Linked DNA regions of Homo sapiens: all the other regions are linked to region 1. Evidence: promoter capture Hi-C in 16 types of primary human blood cells and fetal thymus (Javierre and others, 2016). All regions are on one chromosome and are shown on one strand. Each heading gives the region's core, a stretch centred on a gene start or on the middle of the fragment in contact. The rest is flanking DNA. Distances are from core to core; before and after follow the strand shown.

The links. The method cuts DNA at HindIII sites, captures the fragments that hold promoters and counts their contacts. A CHiCAGO score of 5 or more calls a contact.
Region 2: the fragment with the promoter of ARL16 here is called in contact with the fragment with the promoter of FASN in region 1 in 1 of 17 cell types (M0 macrophages); the score reaches 6.1 in M0 macrophages.
Region 3: a contact is called between the fragment with the promoter of GCGR here and the fragment with the promoter of FASN in region 1, in 3 of 17 cell types (erythroblasts, monocytes and neutrophils). The highest score is 10.5, in erythroblasts.
Region 4: a contact is called between the fragment with the promoter of UTS2R here and the fragment with the promoter of FASN in region 1, in 2 of 17 cell types (neutrophils and monocytes). The highest score is 13.1, in neutrophils.

What each region holds. Positions count from the first base shown.
Region 1 is chr17:82,096,909-82,099,549 of GRCh38, reverse strand. It overlaps FASN (fatty acid synthase), which reads left to right and starts at 1,314. Exons shown (of 43, transcript NM_004104.5): 1 at 1,314-1,429. RefSeq lists silencers at 142-1,621, 1,692-1,881, 1,902-2,111, 2,172-2,221 and an enhancer at 2,090-2,641. The HindIII fragment of the contact is 59,862 bases long and covers 1-2,641 here.
Region 2 is chr17:81,682,547-81,685,187 of GRCh38, reverse strand. ARL16 (ARF like GTPase 16) reads left to right here and starts at 1,391. Exons shown (of 5, transcript NM_001040025.3): 1 at 1,391-1,495; 2 at 1,594-1,652; 3 at 2,062-2,175. The coding sequence starts at 1,435. HGS (hepatocyte growth factor-regulated tyrosine kinase substrate) reads right to left here and starts at 1,177. Exons shown (of 22, transcript NM_004712.5): 1 at 1,085-1,177. The coding sequence starts at 1,121. RefSeq lists silencers at 947-1,046, 1,257-1,316, 1,527-1,606 and enhancers at 1,195-1,489, 1,707-1,926. The HindIII fragment of the contact is 2,231 bases long and covers 398-2,628 here.
Region 3 is chr17:81,802,759-81,805,399 of GRCh38, reverse strand. It overlaps GCGR (glucagon receptor), which reads right to left and starts at 1,250. Exons shown (of 14, transcript NM_000160.5): 1 at 1,151-1,250. It overlaps LOC105376789 (a long non-coding RNA gene), which reads left to right and starts at 655. Exons shown (of 4, transcript XR_001753046.3): 1 at 655-742. RefSeq lists an enhancer at 1,282-1,781. The HindIII fragment of the contact is 37,078 bases long and covers 1-2,641 here.
Region 4 is chr17:82,370,474-82,373,114 of GRCh38, reverse strand. It overlaps UTS2R (urotensin 2 receptor), which reads right to left and starts at 1,350. Exons shown (of 3, transcript NM_018949.3): 1 at 1,068-1,350; 2 at 332-517. The HindIII fragment of the contact is 32,713 bases long and covers 1-2,641 here.

The sequences.
Region 1 (2,641 bases), core at 65-2,564:
GAAGCGGGACACCTGCAGAGGGGCCGGGGGCCCCAGTCTCCGGTTCCCCTTCAGCGGCCCGGGCTTGCTGAGCCCTCAAAGTAGGACACGCAGCCAGAGACACCTGTGGCCTCACAAGGCCCGCTTGCCCCCCATGGGGTGCCTGGCCCCGCAAGCGCGAAGCGGTCAGAAAAGGGAGGCCGCGCTTCAGGGCTCAGGCCGCCCAAGGGGCCACGATTCGAGGAATCACTCGGGAGGGAGGGAGCGCGCGAGGGCCGGGCTGAGCCCCCGCCCGTGGGTGCGCGCCTGGAAAACTCGCAGCCTCCGCCCTGGGAAGTGGGGCAGCGGCTCCCTTTGTCCGCACCACACCAGGTGGGTGTCCCGGCCGACTCCGCTCGCCACGTGGCCGCGCCCCTCCCCTCCGCCGAGCTCCAGCGGCCTGGAGTGCGCTCGCCCGTTCGGCCCTGCGCCTCGTCCGGGTCCCCGGGAAGCTGCTAAGGAGGGGCCGTCGGGTGGGTGGACGTCCGTCTCGGGTCTGGGTTCCCCGCCGCACCCGCGAGGAAAACCGGGGATGCGCTGCGATGACCGGCAGTAACCCCGGCCGGGGCGCCCGCGGCCGGGGTCAACGCCCGCACTTGCGCCGCGGCCCGCGAGGCATCCGGGACCGCCCCGCCGCCCGCCCATCACCCTATCGCCTAGCAACGCCCACCCGCGCGCCGCCATTGGGCCGGTGCGAACACCCCTGGCGCCCGATTGGTTGCTGCTGCCGCCGCGCCGCGCAACGCCGCGCCCTCAGCCAGCTCCGCGCGGGCAGCGACGGCGGCGTGGAGTCGGCGGCCGAAGTGCGGGCACGCGGGTCCGTCCGTCCTTCCGCGCGCCTGTGGGTCCGAGCGCCCCGCCGCAGCCGGCTGGACCCCCGGTGTGGCCACGGGGTAGTCCCCAGTGTGGCCCAAGCATTCCCATCCCGCACACGTGGCCCCGGCGGACACGGGGGTCGGGGATGGCTCGGGAGGCGCGCCGCGGGCTCGGTCGCAGCCGCGTGCGCGTCGGGGCCCGCGGGGCGGGAGGCGGAAGTCGGGGGGCGGTGGTTTCCCGCCCGCCCCGCCCCCGGCGCTCCTCAGTCCCAGCCCCACCCCCCCAGGCGCGTTCCCGCGCAGGGTCCCGGCTCGGGCGGCGGCGCGCACGAGCATCACCCCACCGGCGGCGGCGCGCCGGGTCCCGGGGCGCAGCCCCGACGCTCATTGGCCTGGGCGGCGCAGCCAAGCTGTCAGCCCATGTGGCGTGGCCGCCCGGGGATGGCCGCGGTTTAAATAGCGTCGGCGCCGGCCTAGAGGGAGCCAGAGAGACGGCAGCGGCCCCGGCCTCCCTCTCCGCCGCGCTTCAGCCTCCCGCTCCGCCGCGCTCCAGCCTCGCTCTCCGCCGCCCGCACCGCCGCCCGCGCCCTCACCAGGTACGAGCAGCCGGCGCTGGGGCCGGGGCGCGGGTCGTGGTCGGGGCTGGGCCCGGGGTTCCCGGGGTGGCCCGGCTCCTCATCCTCCGCTCTCGGGGCGCGCGTGGCCCGGCCCCGTATCCAGGGGTCGCCTGGGCGGCCTGTCCGGGTCTCGGTGTTCGTGCCCCTTCGGAGGCGCCCGGGGCCCCGCGGAGTAGGTGGGCGGATGGCGGGGGAAGGACGCCGGGGAAAGCCACCAACAGCCGCCTTCGCTTCCCGTGGGGGAGGCCGCGGACCCTGAAGGGCCTGGAGGAGCCCCCGGCTCGGCCTCCCCGCGCCCACAAAGGCGCCGCCGCATCCTCCTCCCGGAGCCGCCCCGGAGCCGAGGCCCAGCCCGAAGGGGACGCCGCGAGGGAGGAACGGGGGGGCGCAGGGGCCGCGCCGGGACCGGCCTCCCCATCACGTGGCGCAGCCCGGCCGAAGCGCAGGGGTCCCGAGCAGCCCCCGCCCGGGGCGAAGGGAGGCCGGGCGCGCCGCGGTGTTCCCACCCCCTGCCTGGCCGTCGACCCCGCGTGAATAGCAAGCGGCGAGGACCCAGCGTGCGGGCCTGGAGCTGGCCCGGGGCAGCCAAGCCTCTGTGAATCGCAGCGGGTGGGAAGGCGGCCGCCTCCCTGCCGGGACGGCCCAAGGGAGGCCGCACTGCCGAGGGGCGGCGCGCGTATCAGGCCCTGGGGCCTCGTGCAAGTGGCCAGACCAGCGCTGGCCTCCGCCCCCTCCCCCCAGGGCCGCACCAGCCCTCATGCTGGAGGAGGAGCCGGCGGCCTGGGCACCCGTTCCGGGTCTTAGGGACCTGGGCTCCAGGGAGGGCCTCCTGTGGTGTGTGGGTTGGTATGGGGAGGCAAGCGTCTGTGGGTTCACCCGCGCAGGTGAAGGGTGCCAGGCAACACCTGCGTGTCCTGGCCAGGAGTGGTTCTCCAGGTTGGACCCTGCTGGAGGGGTTGGACTGGCTGGGTCGGTCCACAGTGGGGCAGGGGCCACCTTTCCCCCAGAGCATAGGCTATCCCCATTTCGTCCCTCCCCAGCCCTGGTGGCTCTTGGGCTGGCCTGGACAGCGGGCCCCCACCCCAACACGGGTGAGCATGGGTGCTGAGTACCCCCCTCTAGGGCTCCCAGCCACCTCCATGCCCCGGCTTTGGGACCCTGCCTCTCCATTTCTTTGATGGCCCTTAGCAG
Region 2 (2,641 bases), core at 142-2,641, 410 kb after region 1:
CCTTAGCTTGGGCAAGGGCTAGAGAGGCCTGCAGTGTAGACTCCAGGCCCCTTGCTCCAAGCCAAGTGCTTTGGAAATAAGGGCAGAACGGGGCTCCAAGGAGGACTCGCCAGCATACCTGTCATCATACCACATCACTGCTGTCTCCAACAACTGGCCCCTCTGGGGGGGCAGCTCCAGCTCTGCCCACATCGCCTTTCCCGGATACAGAAACGATCTAACAAGCCAAGCCACGTCCACTTTCTATACTGATTCAGTAGTTAACCTCTGGATTCATCCCTGAAGCACTGAACTACCTGTGTGGCTGAGATACTCAGTCTGCTTGCTGGTTCCCTTGGCAAGGAAGGTGTCTCACTTGAAGTCTCCTTGAAAACCCTACTTGACAAAAAGGCAAGCTTGGGCAGCCCATTCGACCACCCAAGCTCCTACCCCCAAACATTAGACGCATTTTCCACGTGCTGCTGGGCACGTGCACATCAACATTCGTTTCCCTCCCAAAACGCGTCAATTCCAGGAGGCTCAGATAGGATCAGCTTTCACCTCCAAAAACGTGAGAAAACGCCTTCCTAAACCATTAGGCACTTCCCGAAGCCAGTGTGGGAACAAAAGGTGGGTCTGGGACCCGCAGCCCCCAAGAGAGCTCGAAGGTCCCAGAGAGAACACTGCCGGCTCCACCCTTCGAGGCCCAGTGTTTTGGGTCAGAAGCCCAAGTGCGAGCCTAACATCCGACTGAGTCACCCACTTTCATGACTCAGGCCTTGTGGCCCACTCGGCCGGGTGCTCGTCGGTCAAGAGGAAATCGGCCGAATGCCCGGGCCCGCGGAGGAGCGAGGTCGCCGAGCGCCCCTGGCGCCCTGCGCGGACCCTCGCAGAGCCCCATTTGCCAACGCCCGACGGACGCCGACCCCACGGCCGCGCCGAGGGTCCAGGATCGGCGGCTCCGAACCCGGGAGGACAGCGGGCCGGGGAGAGGCGGGCAGGGCGGCCGGTCCGCGCCCCTCGGGCCCTCGGGGCCGCGCTGACTCAGCGCCGGGCGGAGGCTGCGGGCTGACCAAGGCCGAGCCGTCGGGTGGGGACGCGTTACCTAGGAGACGCTCGAAGGTGCCGCTGCCTCGCCCCATGGCGACCTCCAGCCCAAACCCGACGCCGCGGGCGCTCCCCTGCTACGAGCTGGCGCGCCCCCCGACTTCCGCTTCCGCCTTTTCCCTCCAGTGCGCGCACGCGCACGTCACCGCGCCGGCCCTAGAGCCGCGAGGAGGCGGGGTCTTCCGCTCTCCCGCTAACGCTGCGCGCTAATTGGACGCGCCCTTGGAACAATGAGCCCTAAGAACCAATGAGAAGTCCGAAGGTGAGAACTATCCAATGAGAGTGGCCGGTGGGCGGGCCTTGAGCCGCGGCGCCGAGCTACGGGTGCCGGGTGGAGCGAAGCACGGAATGTGTCTCCTGCTGGGGGCCACGGGCGTCGGGAAGACGCTGCTGGTGAAACGGCTGCAGGATATCCTTCCGCGCGGGGACGGGACCGGGGCGCGGGGGGCACCCGGAGTGGGGCGGGGACTCACCCTTTAGCTGCTCGGGTCCTTGACCGCTTCGCACAGGTGAGCTCCCGGGATGGGAAAGGCGACCTGGGGGAGCCGCCCCCGACACGGCCCACGGTAGGTGTCCGCCCCCGCGGGTGGAGTTGCGGGGGGTCAGTTCTGCGCTTGGCGAAGAGCTCCGGGCTCCTCTAAGTGCACGCCGAGGCGCAGCGGGTCAGGTCGTGACTTAAGGCCAGCCTTCGGGAGCGGGGGACGGCCCGAGCTGAGGATAATTGGCGCGGGATGAGGGGGCCTGCCGCCCTCCACGGGCACTTCCTCTCCCCTCGCAACGGCTTCCTGTGGCTGGTCGCCCCCACAGCGAGTCCAGCTACTGATGGGCGTCGGTCCCTGCTCGCCGTTCCTGCGTTAGGGAGAATGGGTCTGCGGGGTTCAGGCCACCGTGTAAGGTGTGGGCACGGTGCTCTTCAGGAGTTCACAACGGGACAGCGGTTGTATTGTTCTTTTTGCATCGTGGTTTTTCCTATAGGTGGGCACCAATCTTACTGACATCGTGGCACAGAGAAAGATCACCATCCGGGAGCTTGGGGGGTGCATGGGCCCCATCTGGTCCAGTTACTATGGAAACTGCCGTTCTCTCCTGGTGGGTTGTAATCCTATATGGGCTTCCTTTAGGGAAGTGTGTCTACATTTCTGTGACGTCCAGTCCCCAACCTTGCTGTGTGTAGAAAGGGGTTTGGGTTATTTAGTGACTATACTACTCATGGAAATAGGTCTTAGCTAGTGTTGCTTCCTGCTGGGCACCCTGTCTGGTTTCTGGTGCTTGCGCTCCCAGGCCCCCGGTAGGAGCTCACAGAGGGCTTGCTGAGGGCAGGGCTGCTGCTCCGCAGAGAACAGACTTGGCCCTCTGTGTCACTCCCCGGTACGTCTGTGTTTATGTTGGACTTATACGTACCTCTGGTTGGTCTCATCTTGATAAGGCCTGTGCCGCGGATACCAGTATGGAGAACTGATGGCCACATGAGGACAGAGACGAGTGACACCAGGTCGTCTTCATAAAACTCGATTCCCTCTGCTTCTGCTTGTTCCCAAAGCTTTGTTTAAAGCTA
Region 3 (2,641 bases), core at 1-2,500, 290 kb after region 1:
ACCAGGGCTTAGGGCCACCTGAGCTCCACTGCCCCGGCCGCTTTGCAGGGCTGGCACCCCGTGTCCTGTCCCATGTCCTCCCTGGCAGAACACGTGACTCTTGGGCGCTCCTGGCTGCGTCAGGCTCCACCGATTCCCACTGGGGGCGGCTGAGGGACCCGCAGACCTGGAGCTGGGCCCCCAGGATGGGTGGAGCGGCCACTGGTCCAGGAAGGCAGCGGGGCTCCCAGGGCGTCCGCAAGGGGCCTCTCAGACGCTTTGAGGAGCTCCGGGATGGGAGCCGGGATGTTTTTGTGAAACCAGAGAAGGTAGTGGAAGGTCAGGGCACCGGGGCGGGATCAGGGGCCACAGGCTGTTGACAAAGCCCTATCCCTGCGCCCTCACCCCGTGGGGGCGGGGCAGGCGTGGGTGCACCCAGACCCCCCAACCCTGATGTCCCCAATACCAAGGGCAGAGAGCAGCCCTGGCCGGTCCTTGGAGGATGCGGGCGCCGAGGGGGCCGGGGTCAGTCGGTTCAGAGTCGGAGCATAAGCCCGGTGGCCGAGTCGGCCGGGTGGTGGGGCGCCGGGGGGGCCGGAGCCGGGCAGGGCAGTGACCCGCTTGCCGGGGTCAAAGTCGCCAGTGTGGGCCGCGGAAGAGGAGCGGCCAGGCGGGGCGCAGACACCCCTCACCCCATCCTGGGCCGCGCCGGTGCCACCGGGCAGTCCTCGGGGCAGGAGCCCACCGAGGGGAGACAGCGCTGGTGAGACCCCGCGCCTCGGGGACGCGTCCGCGGCGCTTTGTGCGCTCCCCAGGGCGGCGGGGCCCGGGGCCCTGAGTGGGGAGTGTGGCCGCTGCAGTGTGGCCGCCGCAGGGCGCCAGGCGGCCAGCGACACCCCCGCCCCCAGCCGCGCCCCCCAGGACCAGAGAACGGGGGAGGGGCTGAGACCCCTGGACCTGCCCGACGGTGCAGGACCGGGTGGTGTCCGAGCCGGGGTTGGGAACGGGGGTGTCTGACGGGACTGAGGAGCGCACCAGCCCGGACCCCGGAGACCGCCCGGCCGGCTCCCCGCTCCCCGCGCCCCCGGCCCCGCCGCGCCCGCCCCGCGGTCTCTGTCCCCACCGGGTCGACTCCCCAACGTCCCCTCGGGGCCGCGGCCCAGGTGCTCACCGCGCGGCGCTGCTCGGGGGTCGGCTTGGCTCCCCGCCGTCCTCTGGGCGCGCTCGGGTCGGGCGCCGGTGACCGCTCGTCTTCGCGGCGCTGCCAGATCGGGGTCGGTGCAAACTTTCCGGCGGCGACGCAGGGCGAGGGCGGCGGCGGAGGGCGGGCTCGGGGGCGGCCCCGCGGGGGTGGGAGCGGCAGCCGAGGGTCCCCGCCCGCCCTCCGCGCAGCCTCCCGGCGAGCTTCGGTCCTGCCCACCCTGCGCAGGGAGCGCCTCGTACCCCGGCCATACGCAGACTCGGCGCGCTGAATTCCACCCCGCGGACCCGCGCCCCACAGACCTTTGTCCCACGGGTCCTGGTTCCGCAGACCCTAATCCTGCAGACCCCTGAGCCCGCGGACCCTGGCCCAGCAGGTGGTGGTCGCGGTGGGTCCCAGCTCCGGGAGGGGACGCCCTGGGACGCGGAGGGGCGCGCGGGCGTGGGGGCCGTGGCTCAGCCCCCCTTCCTCTCGCTCCCTCCGCCTCCCTGGGCGCCCCCTCGCCCCCTTCCTCTCGCGTCCCCGGGTTCTCGCCCCTTCTTTCCTGATGCCTGCCTGATTTTCTGGAAAGACCGACACCCCCAGTCGCCCCCACCGCGGCTCCCGGTTCCTTCCCCTGCAGAGCAGACGGGGGCTGGAGTAGGGGCCAACATGGGTGACATGGGTGGACCGGCAGGGCGGTCCCTGGGGTGCCCTTTAACTCTTTCTGTGCCACATCCCCGGTCTCTGGCCAGTCCTGTCGCGCTAAGGCCCCTCCAGCAGCGCTGACCCTGGTCCCCCACCTGCTGGTCCTGCGGCCGCGGGGCGCTCTCTCCTCCGTCCCACCCGCTCCTTCCACACCACCTCCTTTCCTGGGAGTGGAGAAGCCCCAGCCAGAACCCCTGCCTTCCCCAAGAGGCACGCTCAGAGGGACATTCTCCCCTTCCTCACTCCCCCTAGAGCCACATCACACCTGGCTTTGGGGCCCTAGAACCTCAGCCCGCGCCCCTCCCCTTCCACCCCCAGCCATCCCTGCTCTGTGCCCAGTGATCTTGGGGTCACCACAACCCCATGGCGCCTTGAGGCCTCACCTTTCCTGGCCTCTCAGCATCCTGGGACACTGATGGTCATGCCTTCCTTCTAGAAAGTTCTCTCCGAGGCTGTGGCTTCCAGGATGAGCACTCTCCTCCTCCCACTTCCTCCCCTTCTCCTTCCCCCTCCTCCCTTCTCCCTGGAGAGGTCTTCCTCCAAGTCCCAGTCTTCTTCCCCACCCAGAGCCCCTCCCGCTGACACTTGTCTGCAGTGCCTGTCTCCGCTCCCGCTAGGAAGCCTCCCCTCCGGCATCTCCAATCCATCTCTGGGTCCTGCTCCACCTGCATTTCCCTAGACCTGTCCTGGCCACCCTCACCCTGGGACACCTCCTGCCCGTGGAGAGCTCCTCTGATAGGTGCCGTCCTTGGTCTTGGGGGTCCTTTCTCCCTA
Region 4 (2,641 bases), core at 101-2,600, 270 kb before region 1:
ACTGCAAATTAGTAAGGAAAAGACAAACAACCCATTTGAAAAAAAGAGACCAAAACCGTGACCGGGGACTTCCTGAAAAGGACACCCACGCAGCCAACAAGCAGGGAAATGCCAGTCAGGGCCACAGGAGCCCCTGCGTGCTGACAAGGATGAACGCGTGAAAAGGCAGATATCCTTGTCAACAGGCGTGGGGGCTGTGGAGGAGCTGGCCCTGCCGTTTCCTGTTGCTGGGAACCTGGACTGTGCCGCCGCTTTGGAAAGCCATTGGCACGATTTGCAGAGTTGACCGCCTATACCTTCTCACCCGGCAATTCTACTCTCAGGTTAGTACCTTAGATAAAGGGCTGCCAACGTTCAGAAAATGACAAGCGTGCGAAAGTTCACGGCAGCTTGACTCCTAAGAAGCTGGAAACAGCTCAAATGTCCCCAGTGGACGGGGCAGGCAAACTGTGACATGAAGCCAGTGAAGGAGTCGCCGCTGGGGTCAGCAGCCTGGATGAAACAGCGCGGTGGTGGGCTGAAGAAACAAGACACAGGAGGCTGCCTGATTCCACGAGCCACGCTGAATTTAGGCCGAACACTCATGGCTGCGCAGGGAGCAGTCTTGGCTGGGGTGGGGAGTTGTCAACAGGTGGGGGCGCTGGGGGCCTTCCAGGGCCTGGAAATGTGCCCTGTCCGCCCTTTCCCACCAGGCCGAGCAGCTCCCAGCTCCATCTGTCCAGGGGACCCTCACCCCCTTGCTGCCCCCACCCAGGGCATTTCCAGAGCCCTCACCCAGGGGACGGCGCAGAAGCCGAGGGTGCACCGGGCTCCCCAGTTGTGCGCGAGCCCGAGTCACGGGCAGGGGGACAGCGGCCGCCGGGCCGCTAGGATTGCTCCAGGGTCGCTAGGGGGGAAGGGGAGGGGCCGAAAGTTCCACGGCACGGGAGAAGCCGCCTCGCTGGACCCCGCTCCCCTCGCCCAGGGTGGGTTCCCACCGCGAAACCCCGGCCCAGCCCTGCGGAGGGCCCCGAAGGGCACAGACCCGGCAGTCCCCGCGCGCTCCCGGTCACCCACCGAGGACCCACCTGCCTCCGGTCACTGAGCGGCCAGACCTGCCCGCCGAGCCTGGGGTCGCGCGTGGGGGCAGCCGCTCGCGGCTCCAAACTCCTCGCGCAGCGGGGCCGCGGGGAACTTTCCGAGGCGCGCTCCCCTGTCCCAGCGCAGAGGGGGCGCGAGGGGCTCCGCGGTGGCCTCGGCTTCCAGAGCACACGGCAGGGGCGCCCGCCAGTCCCGCCACCAAAGCCGCGCCCCCCGCCCCGCGCCGGGTCTCTGCGCCGCCGCCACCTGCCCGCCGCCAGCTGGGAATGCGCCGCGCCCCGCGCCAGGGCCCGGTATTAAAATAACCCCAGCGGGCAGCAGGCGCGCGGAGGGGACGGCGCCGGGTGTCTAGGGGGCGGCGCTGACCGCGCGGCGCCGGGAAGACGCGGGGGTCGCGGGGCCGCAGCGGGGTCGGCGGAGGGTCCCAGGCGGGTCTCGCGTCTGCGTCTGCGGAGCGAAGCTGCCTCCAGCCCGGCTGCCCCAAGGCTGACCCCGCAGCCCCTCTTGGGTTCTCCGCCTCCAGCGTTCACCCCTGCGCCCCTCACGCCCGTGTTTGCAGGGCACGGAGCCTGGGATTCTCCGTGTCCACCAAGCCCTGGACCCGCCCGCGCGCAGGTGGGGGGCAGGAACACCCCTAAACCCCGAGAGGGTCATAGAAAGGAGGTAAGGGAGGGAGGGAGTCACCCGCCCAGGCGGGGACGGGCTCTTTGGGGGCCTTGACCCCGCCCCTGTTGCGGGTCTCCCACAGATGCTCTTAGAAGCCCACGCAGCCTCTCCAGGCCTCGGCAGGGACTCGTGGTGGCCACATCCACGGAAGTGACGCTGGGAGCTGCAGGGCCCCGCGGGGTAGGAGGAAGGACCCCACAGCCTCACCCTCGAGCCCCTGAGCTGGGTGCTGGCCCCCACTCGGTTTCACTTGCTGCTCGGAGGTAGGATGTGGGCCTTCACTCATGCTGAACCCCTGAAAGAAAAAGACACAGAACATTAATAAATTAGACTAGAGGAGAGCTGGAGAGCTGTGAACACGGGGTCTAAAGGGCCCCCAGCGAGGAGCTGGCCTCGCCCACTCCACTCCGCCCGGGGCTCATCTGCTGCCTGAGGCCGCGGACCGGCCCCTAAAGCTGAAGGGGTTCTGCTGGGGGAGAGGAGGTGGCCAAGTGTGAATGGCCGAGAGGCTCCTGCAATCAGCTGGATCCGGGGGAGCCCCAGATGCCCACCAGTCCCCTCCGTGGGACGTTTGCCACGTGCTGGGGAGGCGAGGCTGGGCTGGAGAGGGCGGGAAAAGTCCCTCTGGTCTCCGAGCGTCCGCTGGACGGAGCAAGGGTCACACAATAAGACAGTTCATTCTCTGTGAGCTGAAAACAGCCGAACTGAAACCAAATACAGCTGCAGCTTCCGACCCGAAAGGGGAGCAGCTCATCCTGCCTGTGCGCGGGAGGAAAGGGGGTGGAAGGCTGCCTCCGACGTGATGGTTCTGTGAGAGCTGATTACTAAGCTGGAGTCTAGGGGCTAGGGCTGGGGAAAAGCACTCAGGACCCAGAATGCCTGCTCCAAGAATTAA